Regions from separate parts of the Homo sapiens genome. Here region 1 is linked to region 2. The links are contacts of gene promoters, found by promoter capture Hi-C in human tissues and cell types (Jung and others, 2019). All regions are on one chromosome and are shown on one strand. Each heading gives the region's core, a stretch centred on a gene start or on the middle of the fragment in contact. The rest is flanking DNA. Distances are from core to core; before and after follow the strand shown.

What was found. Contacts are between HindIII fragments. The study calls those that stand out against the background at their distance.
Region 1: a fragment that was not itself captured here is called in contact with the fragment with the promoter of SCNN1G in region 2 in 1 of the 25 tissues and cell types used here (pancreas).

The regions. Positions count from the first base shown.
Region 1 is chr16:23,344,680-23,352,065 of GRCh38, reverse strand. It overlaps SCNN1B (sodium channel epithelial 1 subunit beta), which reads right to left. Exons shown (of 13, transcript NM_000336.3): 2 at 3,156-3,474. The coding sequence starts at 3,466. Among named protein-coding and RNA genes, the nearest start is that of SCNN1B, 46 kb to the right of the region's middle. RefSeq lists an enhancer at 3,345-3,846. The HindIII fragment of the contact is 4,323 bases long and covers 3,685-7,386 here.
Region 2 is chr16:23,177,765-23,185,502 of GRCh38, reverse strand. SCNN1G (sodium channel epithelial 1 subunit gamma) reads right to left here and starts at 2,758. Exons shown (of 13, transcript NM_001039.4): 1 at 2,690-2,758. RefSeq lists a silencer at 2,787-3,036. The HindIII fragment of the contact is 8,387 bases long and covers 1,419-7,738 here.

The DNA of each region.
Region 1 (7,386 bases), core at 4,597-7,096, 160 kb before region 2:
AGGTGCTTTCCAGGTCTTGTTTGCCACAAGTCTGTTACCGTCCCCATATATAGCTCAGGAAACTGAGGCTCCAGGAGTTGGTGTGATTTTGCAAGCTCACTCCACTGATAAAGGGCAGAGGTGAGTTTAGAATCTGGGTTTGGTGGGCTCCAGTGGGTATGTTTATGGGGGTTCTGAGATCTCCCTCCCAGGGGGGAGCAACTTTGGGAACAGGAGCCAGTTTCAAGAGAGAGAAAATGAATGGGACTGTGAGGCTGGCTCCAATGTCTTCCCTCAGCCCTGTGGCGCTCCCATGTTGGACATGGTGGCCAGTGAGAGATGGATCTATCAAGAAGTATCTCTGCGGGGCCGGGCCCTGCACCCCAGTCACTTCATGTCCAATTTACCCAAGACCCTGCCTCAAAGTGGGGTAATTGAGGCCACAAATGCCAACTCTGGCTGGAGAACTTCCTGCAGGAGCATTAAATGCTGGACAGAGGCCAAGGTCCTGGTACAAAGGTGTACAGCAGCCAGAGCTAACGTTGGCCTTCGATGCCAGTTCCCTGACCATTAAATCTGTGTACACAGGAACAGGAGGATGGGGAAGGGTGGCGTCTGTGCAGGTGGTGGTGTTATTACAGCCTAGATGTTCACAGCTTCTGGGAAGCTTGATGGGTCACTGTATGGGCTCCAGGTTTGAATCCTGGCATGCCACTTAATATCTTGGGCAACTTAACCTCCCTGAGGCTCTGTTCTCTCATCTACAAAACAGGGGGATAAAAATAAGTAACCCAGAGAATCGTTGGGAAGATTCAATGAGGTGCTGCTTATAAAATGCATGGATCAGTGCCCAGAAGGAGTGCTGTCGTTCCTATTATTATTAAAGATTCTCTTGAGCAGCTCTAAGAACCCACCAAGGCAGGAAGAACCCTATTAATAGAAAGAAGGGACTTTCTGATAATTGGGAAAGTAATCACTATGTGAGAATTCCCTTCTAGGACTTTTAAAAACAGAGATGCTGTCTCACCATGTTGGCCATGCTGACCTTGAACTCCTGGCTTCAAGTGATCCTTAAGCCTCGGCCTCCCAACATGCTCTGATTTCAAGCCTGAGCCACTGTGCCCGTGCCCAGTCAGGACTTTCTTTTGCTTTCTTTCTTTTCTTTTTTTTAATTGAGACAAGGTCTTGCTCTGTCACCCAGGCTGGAGTGCAGTGGCGAGATCTCGGCTCACTGCAACCTCCACCTCCTGAGTTCAAGTGATTTTCCTGCCTCAGCCTCCTGAGTAGCTGGGTTTACAGGCATGTGCCAGCACACCCGGCTAATTTTTGTATTTTTAGTAGAGATGGGGTTTCACCATGTTGGGCAGGCTGGTCTCGAACTCCTGACCTCAAGTAATCCACTCGCTTTGGCCTCTCAAAATGCTGAGATTACAGGCGTGAGCCACTGTGCCCGGTCAGGACTCTCTTTTGGATAAAAATGTTTTCTGTGACTCAGCCCTTCTTTCAGTTCCTTGAATGCACCAAGCATCTCACCAGCTGCACCTGCTGTATCCAAGACTGGGGGCACTCTCTTCACCATATCTGGCCAACTTCTACTCATTCCTTAGGGCACTTTTTTTTATTTTTTGTTTTTGGACTGACTCCCTGTCTCTCCATAACCCTGACTAGGTTGGGTCTCCTCTTGTGTCCCCTTCACAGGTCTTGCTATCAAGCGGAGAATGGAGAACGGGCAATCCGGAAGAATGGTTAAAAAGTAGCAGTTCTGGGATCACATCAGGCCTAGATTCAAATCCCACAGTCTTCCACTGTGCATCTCCAGGCAAGCTCACTTACTTCTCTGAACCTCCATCTCCTCACCTGTAAACTGGGGCTGCGACAGGAGTTCCCAATCCTAGGGTGGTTGTGTGGATTAGAATGACACCAATTATCCAAAGAACACTGAACACAGTGCCTAGCATATCATAAGCATTTGTTGAAGAGTGGTTTTATTTATTTATTTTTTAATTTTTGAGACAGGATCTTGTTCTGTTGCCCAGGCTGGAGTGCAGTGATGCAATCTCAGCTCACTATAACCTCTGCCTCTCGGGGTCAAGCAATTCTCGTGCCTCAGCCTCCTAAGTAGCTGAGATTACAGGCATTGCCTGTATTTTTAGTAGAGTTGAGGTTTCACCATGTTGGCCAGACTGGTCTCAAACTCCTGACCTCGAGTAATCTGCCCACCTCAGCCTCTCAAAATGCTGGGATTACAGGTATGAGCCATGGTGCCCGGCTGAGTTGTTTTATTTTTTATCATCATAATGATGATGAATTCGATATTTGTGGGGACAACTTTGTGGGGCATGTTTGCTCTGGCAGGCTGTGAAGAGGACAGGGACTCTGTTTTGTTAACTGTTGTATTTGTGTTGCCTAGGACAGTGCCTGGCACATAGTAGGTGCTCCGTAAACACGCGTGGAATCGATAAATAGGCACTGGCCTGCCTGAAGACAGAGGGTGCCCAAGGTTCTCTCTAAGCCTAGGAAACTTATGATTTTTTTATTTTTAAGAGATAGCATCTGTTACCCAGGCTGGAATGCAGTGGCATCTTCTTGTTTTTATTTTTAATTAATTATTTTTTCTTAGCCTTGACTTGAAACTCAAGTGGCGCCATCTCAGCCCACTGCAGCCTCGAGCTCCTGGGCTCAAGCAGTTCTCCCACCTCTGCTTCCTATGCAGCTCAGACCACAGACATGTGCCACCACGTCTGGCTAATTAAAAAAAATTATTTACTTTTTTTAGAAGTGGGATCTTGCTATGTTGCCCAGGCTGTTCTCCAACTCCTGGCCTCAAGGGATCCTTCTGTCTTTGCCTCTCAAAGTGCTGTTATTACAGGCCACTGCACCTGGCCAAAAGTTTATGAAGTTTGAATCTTAGTTGCTGCAAAAGGATGAAGGCAAATGGAAAGACAGAGAGGAGGAGAAAGAGAAAGAAGGAAGGAAAGAAAGAAAAGAAAAAAGAAAGGGAAGAAGAAGGAAGGAAAAGTAATAAAGGGAGAAAGGAAGGAAGAAAGGGGAGAAATAAAGAGAAGGAGAGAAAGGAGAAGGAAGGAAAGGAAGGAAAGGAAAGGTAGAAGGGAAGAAAAGAGAGAAAGAGAACCGCCTGTCTGCTGAGGCCAGCTGTGCACTCCGGGGCCACCTACTTGAAGGGGCTAGCATTGCAGATGGTGACGGCAGGGAAGTCCATGGTCTTGAAGCCTACGGAGAGGGAGACGCTGACCTCCCAGCTCAAGTAGGTCCTGATGAAGATGCCCCACTGCCAGCAGACGAGGGCGGCGAAGAGCAGGGTGAGCAGGAACCACATGGCTTTCTTCTTGGGCCCCTCACAGATGATGCGCTTGGGGCCGTGGGTGTTGGTGTTGTCGCAGTACCACACCAGCAGCTCCTTGTACGTGTAGCCGGGGCCCTTCTGCAGCCGATGCAGGCCCTTCAGCAGGTACTTCTTCACGTGCATAGTGGCACCTGCAGAGAGGCATGGGGACGCACATCAGCTGGGACACCAGCCTTGCCTGCGAGGATGTCCCAGTCACGTCCAGGAACTGGGCGGCGGTACGTCCCCGTTCTTCCTCCCTCTTTACCCTCCCCCCTCCCTCCCTCCCTTTTTTCCTTCTTTTCTTCCTTCCTTTGGCTATCTGTCATCAATCCATCCATCCATCTAATCAACCAAAATGCATTTATTGAATGCCTACTATATGCCAGGCACTCAAATGGTCCTTCTGGACTCAATGAGCAAAATGGACAAGGTTTTTTGCCCTTTGGGAATTCATAACCTAGTGAACAAGTGACTTAAACTCTCAACTCAGGTTCTCTGTGCATAAAATGTGGTATAGCAAGTCCTCAAACGACGTCGTTTTGTTCAATGTTTCATTGTAACATTGATGAGAAAAGAAAGTAGATTCCCAGCCAGGGCCACTGTCTATATGGAGTTTACATGTCCTCCCCATGATGTGTCTGCATGGTCCCAGGTGAGTGAGTGTGACTGTGTGTGAGTGCTCTGCAATGGAATGTGTCCTGTGTAGGGTGGGTTCCCGCCTGTGGCCTCAGCTGCAGAGATAGGCTCTGGCCACTGTGACCTTGAACTGAATAAGTGGGTAAATAATGATCTTACTTGTTTTTATTAATCTTTCTTTTTCTTTTTCTTTTTTCAGATAGGGTCTCACTCTCTTACCCAGCCTAGAGCGCAGTGGCGCAGTCATGGCTCACTGCAATCTCTACCTCCCAGGCTCAAGAGATCCTCCCACCTCAGCCTCCTAAGTAGCTGGGATTATAGGCATGCACACCACCATATCAGTGAATTTTTGTATTTTTAGTGGAGACGGGGTTTCACCGTGTTGCCCAGGCTGGTCTCAAACTCCTGAGCTCAAGTGATCCACCCACCTCAGCATCCCAAAGTGCTGGCATTACAGGCATGAACCACCGCACCTGGTCTTAATCTTTCTTAAATGTATGTATAGCTCATATTTATTTCAATGTTTAATATTAGAAGCATTTTGGTCTTTACTTAGAAATTTGGTGACTTTTTTTGTGACCAGAAATAGGCCATAGGAGCTTAACTCTTGTTGATATCAATTAGCCTATGGTGAAATTGATTTCATTAGACATCGTTTAGCCTAGAGTTGCAGTTTCCAAGAACATATCAACAATGTTAAGTGAAGACTTACTGTAACAATTACATCTAACTTACAGGATTGCTGAGAGGAGGAAATTCGGCGATGCACAAAAAGTGCTATGGACTGAGCCTAGCACAGGCCAGGTCCTCAGTATGCCAGTTTCCATTGTCACTAGCTGTCGGTGGGTAAGACAGATGTTAAGCGAAGAATCCATCAAAAAAGCAGAGCTATGAAACATGACAGGAAAGATTGGGACCCCATGCCCTGAGATGCTAGAGGCATTAAAGGCTGGTGGTTTAGAATAAGGATTCTGTAACCAAATTTTCTGGCTTTTTGTTTGTTTGTTTGAGACAGGGTCTCACTCTATCACCCAGGCTGGAGTGCAGTGGCATGATCATGGCTCACTGCAGCCTCGAACTCCTGGGAAATTTCTGGCTTTGACTCTCAGCCCTGCTGCTTCCTAGCTTGTGACTTTGAGCAAATCTCCTTCTCAGTCCTTCAGTTTCCTCATCCATAAAATGGGGATAATTACAGCTTCCACCTGATAAAGCTGTCGTGGAGGCTGGCTGCATGAAAATATGGAGAGGGTAGATTCATGCCTGGCACCTAAGTGTCAGCGATTTTTATTAGAAAACGGAGGCCTGGCCAGGTCTGAGAGTCCTTGGAGAAGTGATGGAGGAGCTGAGGTTAAAGGATAGGAGAGGGGAGGGGAAGGGGGAAGGCTGAAGTGGGGAGGGAGCCTGCAGGGGTGGGGAGGGAGCCTGCAGGGGTGGGGAGGGAGCCTGCAAGGGTGAGCAGGGCCAGGCCACGCAAGGGCTTGTGGACTGTGTTAAAGATTAGGGTTTCAATCCCAAGAGAACTGGAACCTTTGGAGGCATGAGGGTGTGATGCCATCAAAGCTGGGATTTGAAAAGGGCATTCCAGCCAGGTGCGGTGGCTCATGCCTGTAATCCCAGCACTTTGGGAGGCTGAGGCAGGAGGATCACCTGAGGTCAGGAGTTTGAGACTAGCCTGGCCAACATAGTGAAACCCTGTCTCTACTAAAAATACAAAAATTAGCTGGTGGCGGGCCCTTGTAATCCCAGCTACCTGGGAGGCTGAGGCAGGAGAACTGCTTTAGCCTGGGAGGTGGAGGTTGCAGTGAGCCGAGATTGCACTGAGCTGAGATCGCCCCACTGCACTCCAGCCTGGACGACAGAGTGAGACTCCGTCTCAAAAAAAAAAAAAAAAAAAAAAAAAAAAAGAAAAGGAAAAAAGGGTGTTCCATGGATACAAATTAGAATGGGGTGAGGTTGTGTCCGGAGCATGAGGTTGGAGAGTATGGGTCATGGATGAGGAATGCCAGAGTTTTCTGAGACTCTGTTTCCCATATGCATGAGAGGGCAGGTTCTTGTGAAGACCACCAGGTACTTGTTATGGCACATGAGGGTTTCTAAGGACATTCCTGCTTCCCCCTCCCTTCTCTCTGGACACAGAGCAGGAACCTGCGGCAGGAGCATCCCAGCTCTATTCCTGGAGCTCCAGTTGTATTTGATCTTTAAGGTCCAGACCAAAGGCCACTTCCTCCATGAAGCTCTCCTGACTTCAGGCTGGACCCTCACCCCCTCTGAGAGCCTTTCCCTTCTGGGGGCACCATGCTGGGCAGTGTGGTTCCTCTGTGCCCAGCATACTCTCCCCCTTGCACTGAGGTTTCAGGTGAAGATATCCCGCTGTCCCTTTCATCTCAGTTGGTGTGAGTTGCCAGGCTGATCTCTCCTCTTAGCTCTGGGAGATGTGCATGTGACTCAAAGTGGAACATTAGGACTCAATTCTATTCGTTTATATTGGAATAACTGAAGGAGAGACCTCACTTTTAACTAAGCCTACTAAGCTGGTGGTATTTGGCAGCCCAAACGGGAAGTCTTCCTGAGAATAAAGCCAATACAGAGGAAAGAAGAGGCACGAGATGGAGAGAAATTTCTGACTTTGCCATTTGAACACCTGGATCCAGCCATGCCTGAAGCCATTCATTCCTGGCCTCATCAGATATGGAAACAATACATTTTCTTTCTTATTTATGCATATCCAAATTGGATGCCTGCCATTTGCACCCATAAGAAGCTTAATAGTAAAATAAATTGACCCTTGTTTTATCCTGTGTTCTAGTTTCTTGTGCCTGTGGCTTCTCCCGGGAGATCGCAAGCCCCTTGAGGGCAGCAGCTCTGTATCCCTGACAAAGCCCAGCACAGTGCCTGACACCCCACAGAATATCCAGATGTATAAGGTCAGACCTTCACGTCTAAACAGAGATGTTAAACCTGCCCAAGCATATTCACTCCTGATCCAATTATCTGACACAGTAACATTTCTCACCTTCCTTCCCCAGAAGGAGTCTTGGCCAAAGCATGAAGTGCTTTCTTCTCCAACTCTGTTCTCTCTCTCTCTCTCTCTCTCTTTCTCTCTCCTCTCTCTCGACAGGCTCTCGCTCTGTTGCCCAGGCTGGGGTGCAGTGGCACGATCTTGACTCACTGCAACCTCCACCTCCCGGGCTCAGGTGATCCTCCCACCTTAGCCACTTGAGTAGCTGGGACTACAGGCGCATGCCACCATGCCCAGCTAATTTTTGTATTTTCAGTAGAGATAAGGTTTTGCCATGTTGCCCAGGCTTGTCTCGAACTCCTGGGATCAAGCGATCCACCCGCATTGGCTTCCCAAAGTGCTTGGACTACAGGTGTGAGCCACTGCACCCCACCTCCAACTCCATTCTCTGATAGGAATTAAACTC
Region 2 (7,738 bases), core at 1,509-4,008:
TTAATTTAGAGAATGCCCTTGATTTAATAACAGCTTTGGGGGAGAGTACCAGTATTGGAAGGCAAATTATCACATTCATCAATGTGCACGATGCATCTCAACTATACAAACTTTACAATGAGAAATAATTTTAGAAATGAACTAATATACTACATAAAAACTCATTTCATGTTTATAATATATAGTCTCATTAGTCTCATAAGTAAATTTGTCTCTCTCTATAAATATACACATAGCCTACATATATTTCCTTTTGTGTTTCAATAATTCCATGAAGTAGGCATGCTATTATTATATCCATGTTACAGAGGAGAAAAATGGGCTCAGAGAGGTTGAATATCTTGTGTAAGATGATGCAGCTGGTTAGTGGAGGAGCTGGATGGAACCCTGCAGCCTTCACCGCTATGGCATACGCCTTTGAGGGGCCTGGTAGTACGCTGGGTGCAGGGAGTTAATTAACAATACCAAGAACTAAAGGTAGGAGGAAAGAGAAGGAACACAGCTATTTAATTTCCAAACTCTGAACAGTGCACATGACCACTTCCCAAGACTTGTGAGCACTAGTATTGGGGGTGGGGGATATATGAAAACTGTGTCGTCCTATGCCTTCTACAGTGACAAAGGCAAATTAGGACATATCCTAGGGCATACAGGGTGGTCCCCAGGACCAGAGAGGACCCATGTCTGTGACTTCGATGTGCCCCATCAAGATTTTTAGGCAGTATTCGGAACCTGCAGAGTTATGTCTTTTTTTCCCACCCTGAACCCATGAAATATGGGCTAAAATTGGAAGCTGGGGCAAAGCTAGGAGGCTTCCAAGCTTATGATGCTAGTGGGTTTAAGGCCTCAGATGGAAAGGAAATGGAGTGCTGGGCATGGAGGTGAGATGTCCAGAGCAGACAAACTGCTCTAAACCCTCCATAGATTGATATGATTTTGCTGGGATGAAGAACACCATCAAAATGATGCTAGTAGCCTCTGGGCAAGAGGAATATAATTTATTTTTTTATCACTTAAAATATTGCCTATCCTTACCTCCTCCCTCACTACAATCCAAAAAAATAAAAAATGAAATAAAGAAGAAGGAAAGAAAGAAAAAAATTAGCGAGAGTTTGTTTTTAAAATCTAGGTCCAGGTTCAATTGCTTGTCAAATAAAACTGCAGCCCTCCTCTGTGAATGTTCAACAGAAGCTGTGATTCTGGAAGCTCCTATCCCCAGCTCTCAGGGGTACCTCTGCCCCATCAGCCCCTTCCCCAGAACCGACCTTGACCCCAATGGATCAGTCGACAATGTCAGAGGAGCCCCCAAGTGAAGGAAGGGAACTGATCTTGCTCTTTGCAAAACAGATAAAATATTCATATAAATAATATTTCAACTTCAAAGCAAAACAAGACTGTAGCTACCATTAGATTATGCAGCCTGAGCCAATGTGATACCCTTGGTGGAAGAATTACTAGCTGATACCCAGCACTTACTCTTCTAAGTACTTTGCAGCTGTCACCTCATTTAATTTTCACGATAATCGTCTGAGGTAGGTATCACAACCACCTCCATTGTACAAATGAAACAGACGCTGACAGGTTAAGTAGCTTGCCCAAGGTCACACTAGAAAGTGGCTGAGCTGGGATTTGCACCTAGGAGTCCCTTTAACGACTAACTAGGCTGCTCTTCAATCATTAATAATAATAACAGCAGCAGGGAAAGCAGCAATAATGGCAGCTATCACTTATTGATCCCTTTCTGTACTCCCAGGCATCCCACTCAGTCCTTTTCACACACTACCTGATTTAATCCTCACTACAGTTATATGAGGTGCTATTACTTGGCCCATTTCACAGAGAAGGAAACTGAGGCACAGAGGTTAGGTAATTTGCCCAAGACCACACAGGTAGAAAGGATTTGAAGGATTCTTTAGAATTCCAGGGCCCTGGCTCATCGCAGCGGCTCCGTGCACCCCCTCCTCACCTACCACCGACTTTGCCTGTCCCCCATCCCACAGTGCAGGACCCCAAAGCTTGGAGAGGGATGAGAGATTTGCCCCAAGTCTAGCGTTGGGTTCGCTGGACCGGAGAGTTCCCGATCAGTGCCCGTCCCGAAGGGCGAGTCCTGTGCAGAAATCACTTGAACTCAACCTCAGGGCCCTGACCCGAGCTCCTGCCGAGCGACCCCGCAGCCCTGCCCTCCCTGCGCGGAGCGAGCGGGCGCTGTCCTGTGGCGGAAGCCACGTCTGCCCCGGGGGAGCGCCGGCTGAAGGCGCTGGAGCGAATCCAACCAGCCCACTTCAAGTGTTTGCTTCTTTCTGCACCAAGTCACCCCGGAGAAAGCATTCCAGAGGGTAGAAGGAACAGTAGCGGACAGGTCCACGCGACTCACCCCGGCAGGGAAGGGGGCTGAACAGGCGCTGGGCGGAGAAAAGAGGCCAGGTGTGGCCCGGGACCCCCAGACCCCCGGACTCTGAGTGGCTCTCGACTGGCTTCGTGCTCCGGGCCACGGCGTGGGTAGACCCGGGAGAGCTGGCCGCTACCGCCCGGGCAAGGTGTCCCAGCATCCCGGGCACCGGGAAGCCGCCACCGGCTGATGCTGGCTCGGCCACCCACCGCGCTGACGGCGTCCGACGCCCTGGCGCCCGGCATCCGCTCCAGTGCCCAGAACCCCCGAGCTGGTCCGACCCAACCCGGCTGAACTCACCTTTCGGTTCCAAAGGGTCCAAGGCTCGTGCGGGTGCGCTGCTCCTCTGCTCGCTCTCGGGCTAGCATCCCCTGGCAGCGCCACCGCGGGCTCTTGTGGGCCGGCCAGGCCCCGCCCCCTAGGGACCCGCCTCCCCAGGCCCCGCCCCCACCTGCCCAGGTGCTTTCCCCAGGCCGCCAGGCACCTGAGACCGCCCGGAGCGGGCCACGACTTCACAACGCCCCCTGGCGCCCCGAAGCCGCCCTGCGCCCCAGCCCGGCCGCGCTGCGTCTTCCTGGGCCACCGCGCAGTGCCTGCTGCCGCCCCGAGGCCGCCCTGCCATCCTGCATTCCCGCTGGGTCTCTGCGGCACTTACCCCAAGGCGCCTCAAAGCGCCTGCTGCCCCCTATTACTGCCCCGCGACTTCCTTCCACTCCCGTCCAGATGGCAGGTGCCTGCCCTAGCACCAGCAGTAATCCCACGCAGCCTCGCTCCTCGGACTCCCTCCAGACCTGCAGCTTCAGTGCCCACCAGCGTCCGGCTGTAGGCAGCAGGGGCTGTTCAGCCAGGCCACTCATCCTTTGACCTTTTCAGCTGCTTCTTTCTCTTTCTTTCGTTATTTCCTCCTTCCTTCTTCTTTCTTTTCCTCTTTCCTTCTTTTTTTTTTTTTTTGACGGAGTCTCGCTCTGTCGCCCAGTCTGGAGTGCAATGACGCTATCTCAGCTCACTACAACCTCCGCCTCCCGGGTTCAAGCAATTCTCCTGCCTCAGCCTCCCAAGTAGCTGGGGTTACAGGCGCGCGCCACCATGCCCGGATTAATTTTTGTGTTTTTAGTAGAGACGCGGTTTCACCATGTTGGCCAGGCTGGTCTCAAACTACTGACCTCAGGTGATCCACGCGTCTTGGCCTCCCAAAGTGCTGGGATTACAGGTGTGAGCCACCGCGCCTGGCCTGTCCTTCTTTCTCTTTCTCTCTTTCTTTCCTTTCTTTCCTCCTTCCTTCCTTGCCTGCCTGCCTGCCTTCCCGCCCGCCCACCTTCCTTCCTTCCTTCCTTCCTTCCTTCCTTCCTTCCTTCCTTCCTTCCTTCCTTTCTCTTTCTTGCTTGCTTGCCTTCCTTCCTTCCTTCCTCCCTCTTTCTTCTTTCTCTCTCTCCCTTCCTTCCTTCCTCCCTCCCTCCCTCCTTTTTCTTTCTTCCTTTCTTTCTTTCTTTCTTTCTTTTTCTTTCTTTCTTTCCTCTATTTCTCTCTTTCTTTTTTTAACAGGGTCTGCCTCTGTCACCTTGGCTGGAGTGCAGTGCTGCAATCATAGCTCACTGTAGCTGCCAACTACTGGGCTCAAGCGAGCCTCCCACTTCAGCGTCTCAAATAGCTGGAATTACAGAGGTAAGCCACCTTTCCTAGCTTCAGCTGCCTTTTTATAGGGACTCAGATAACTACAAGAAACGAGATTAGAAAACTGCAATTGGGAGGGACCATAGAGACACAGCCCCTTTGTGCCGGGGAGAAACTGAAGCCCAGAGAGAGGAAAGGATCTGTTCTTACCTAGAGCTTCTCAGATTTGAATGTGGTTACAATCACCTATGGATGTTGTTAAAATGCAGATTCTGACTCGATAGGGGTGGAGTGGGTCTTAAGAGTCCGAATTTCCAAATTCCTAGGAGATGCCTTGGTTGCTGGTCCAAGGGCGGTTTGCCCAGGTGGATGGAAACAGGTCCAGCATTATTGGAGAGAAATTTAAAGAAAATCCTCTAAAAAATCTCAGCTGCTTCTTCTAACAATATATGCTCATTGCAAAGAATTAAAACAATAAACTGTGCCCCCCCCTCCCCAAATAAGCATGGCTAACAGTTTGGTTATTATTTGGTGTGTGTGTATGTGTGTGTGTCCACACACACATATTAGTTTTATATATATACACATACATATATAATGGGATTTTGAAACACACACTGTTCAAATTCTATGTTTGTTTTGAATGACAATACACAGTTATATTCTCACTGCAAAATAAAGCCAGCTTTTTCTTCTTTTTGTCTTTTAAATTATTTATTTATTTATTTATTTTGAGACAGGGTCTTGCTCTGTCACCCAGGCTGGAATGTAGTGGCATGATCATGGCTTACTGCAGTCTCAACTTCCTGTGGCTCCAAGGATCCTCCCACCTCAGCCTCCCAAGTAGCTGGGACCCCAGGTGCATGCCACCGATACCCAACTAATTTTTTTTTTTTTTTTTTTTTGGTAGAGAAGGGGTTTCACCATGTTTGCAAGGCTGGTCTTGAACTCCCGAGTTCAAGGGATCTACCCATCTCAGCCTCCCAAAGTGCTGGCATTATAGGCATGGAATTAGGCTAGATTCAAGTTAAAATTTATATACAGTGAAACGCACAATTTTTTTGTTTGTTTGTTTTTGAGGCAAGGTTTTGCTCTGTCACCCAGGGTGGAATGCAGTGGTGTGATCATAGCTCACTGCAGCCTCCAACTCCTGGGCTCAAGCAATCCTCCTGCCTCAGATTACAAAATAGTAGCTAGGACTAGAGGTCTGTGCCACCATGCCTGGCTAATTTTTTATTTTTGTGGAGATGGAATTTCACTATGTTGCCCAGGCTGGTCTTGAACTCCTGGCCTCAAGAAATTTGCCTGCCTTGGCCTCTCAAAGTGTTATGATTGCAGGCATGAGCCACTGCACCTGGCCCAAAATGTACAAGTCAAGGAGTTTTGGTAAATGTGTACACTCCTATGACCAACACCATCTGATTCTTCAGTACAGAGTGGTATTGCCTCTAAACCACTCCTGTCATCATAAGACCATAGGCAACGTCCTCTCCTTCTTGAAGCATCAGTGTTCAGATTTATAAAATATACCTAGAATCTACTTCTCCCCACCTCTGGGGCCACCACCATGCTCTAATTGATCATTGTCTCTCACCCGAATCATTGCCATAGGCTCCTCACTAATCTTGCTAATTCTGCCCTCCACAGCCTCTTGTCAATAAGCCAGTCAAAGAGATTCTTATTGAATTAAGGTTAGATCATGCCATTTCTCTATTTAAACCCATTCAGTGGCTTCTTGCTTCATTTATAATGAAAGCCAAAATCCTTATGGTCATCTGCAAGGCCCTCCATCATCTGACCCTGTTGTCCCTCTGCCCTCGTCTCTTCCTACTCACACTCGCATATTCTGCTTCACCTTCACTGGCCTCCGTGCCATCCTTGCATATGACTATGACCGAACCTAGCCTTAGCAAAGTCATTTGGTTTCAGGCAACAGAAACAGACTCAAATTAGCTCAAGCAGAATCAATAAATTATTAAATGGATGCAGGCAGGGCTCCTTTACAGAATCCAAAGAAACACAGAGGGTCTCAGGAGAATGGGAACCAGGAAAGGTCTGGATCTCTCAGGAGGAGGATTTTGTGGTCTTTTTTTATTTTTATTTTTACTTGAGACAGGGTCTGGCTTTGTCACCCAGGCTGGAGTGCAGTGGTGCGATCTCGGCTCACTGCAACCTCCACCTCCTGGGCCCAAGTGATACTTCCCCCTCAGCCTCCAGAGTAGCTGGGAACATAGGCATGCACTGCCACACCCAGATACATTTTGTGGGTTTTGTAGAGATGGAGGTCTTTCTATATTGCCCAGGCTGGTTTCGAACTCCTGGGCTCAAGCAGTCCACCCGCATTGGCCTCTCAAAGTGCTGGGATTACAGGTGTAAGTCAGTGCGCCTGGCAGAGGATTTTGTGGGCTTTCTTGAATTTTCAAAGCCTGTCTTAGTCTCATGAGTCCTGAAGATAAATTTGATTGGCCACTGGCCTGCCAATGAGCTAGTTTCTTTGGCTCAGGTGTATTCATTCCTGGTCCAATCAGCTAACACTGTGAGGGTAGGAATGGGTAAAACAAATATGACTGAAGAGATTCACCACTACTGGTAAATGGGAAATTCTCAGATCATGTGGCTGTAAGTGAGGAAGAAACCTTAAAACAAGTGAACCAACATTTCCCTTTGTTTTCAAAAAAACACTTCTGGTCCACTTAGGAAAAAGCAATATAGATGAGACTTACATTGCCCCCTAAATACTAAGATTTTAGACTTGCTTGTCGAGAGCAATGGTGTAGAAGCCATTTGCTTGTTTTTCTGCCAATATCCATTCTTTTTATTCTAGAGACATCCCTGAATTTCCTTTGGAGAACCATTCAATCCTATCCACACCCCCCATCCTCATTCATGTGGTTCAACTTAGGTTGACCCCCATCTCTGGCTCTAGCAAATCAGCTTATCTTGTCACTCAGGTTATAGTCTTTTTTTTTTTTTTTGAGATGGAATCTCGCTTTGTCGTCCAGGCTGCAATGCAGTGGTGCTATCTCGGCTCACTGCAATCTCCGCCTCCTGGGTTCAAGTGATTCTCCTGCCTCAGCCTCCCAAGTAGCTGGGACTACATGTGCACACCACCACACCCGGATAATTTCTTTTTTTTCTTTTTTTTTTTTTTAGTAGAGACAGGGTTTCACCATGTTGGCCAGGCTGGTCTCAAACTCCTAACTTCAGGTGATCCACCCACTTTGGCCTCCTAAATTGCTGGAATTACAGGCATGAGCCACCATGCCTGGCCTTTAGGTTACAGTCTTTTGCTCAGGAGTGGGCACAGACAGAAATTCAATCCAATGAGAGTCTGAGAGTCACACCCACCCAAGACTTTGTCTAGAATATTGCAAAGGAGGATGTCTCTTTTTACTGGGACTTCTAGCAGAAAGGACTGTGTGATCCAAGGGCTGTGGAAAGTATCACATAGGGCCTTAGAGTGAAACCAACACAAAGAAAAGCAGAGCCCAGTGATGGAGAGGGTTCCAGCAAGTCTCTGGACCCAGCACTGCCTACAGCTGGGTCTACCTTCTGGAATTCTCAGTCATATGAGCCAATAAACTTGCTATTGTGTTTAGGACATTTTGAGTTGTTTATCTCACTCAAAACCAAAAAAGTCCCAACTAATATAGAGAATAAAAATCCTATCTTCCCACTTGGATGTGGTGATGTCTTCTTCTGTTTCTTAAAGTGAGTGTATTTCATATCTAGTCCCAG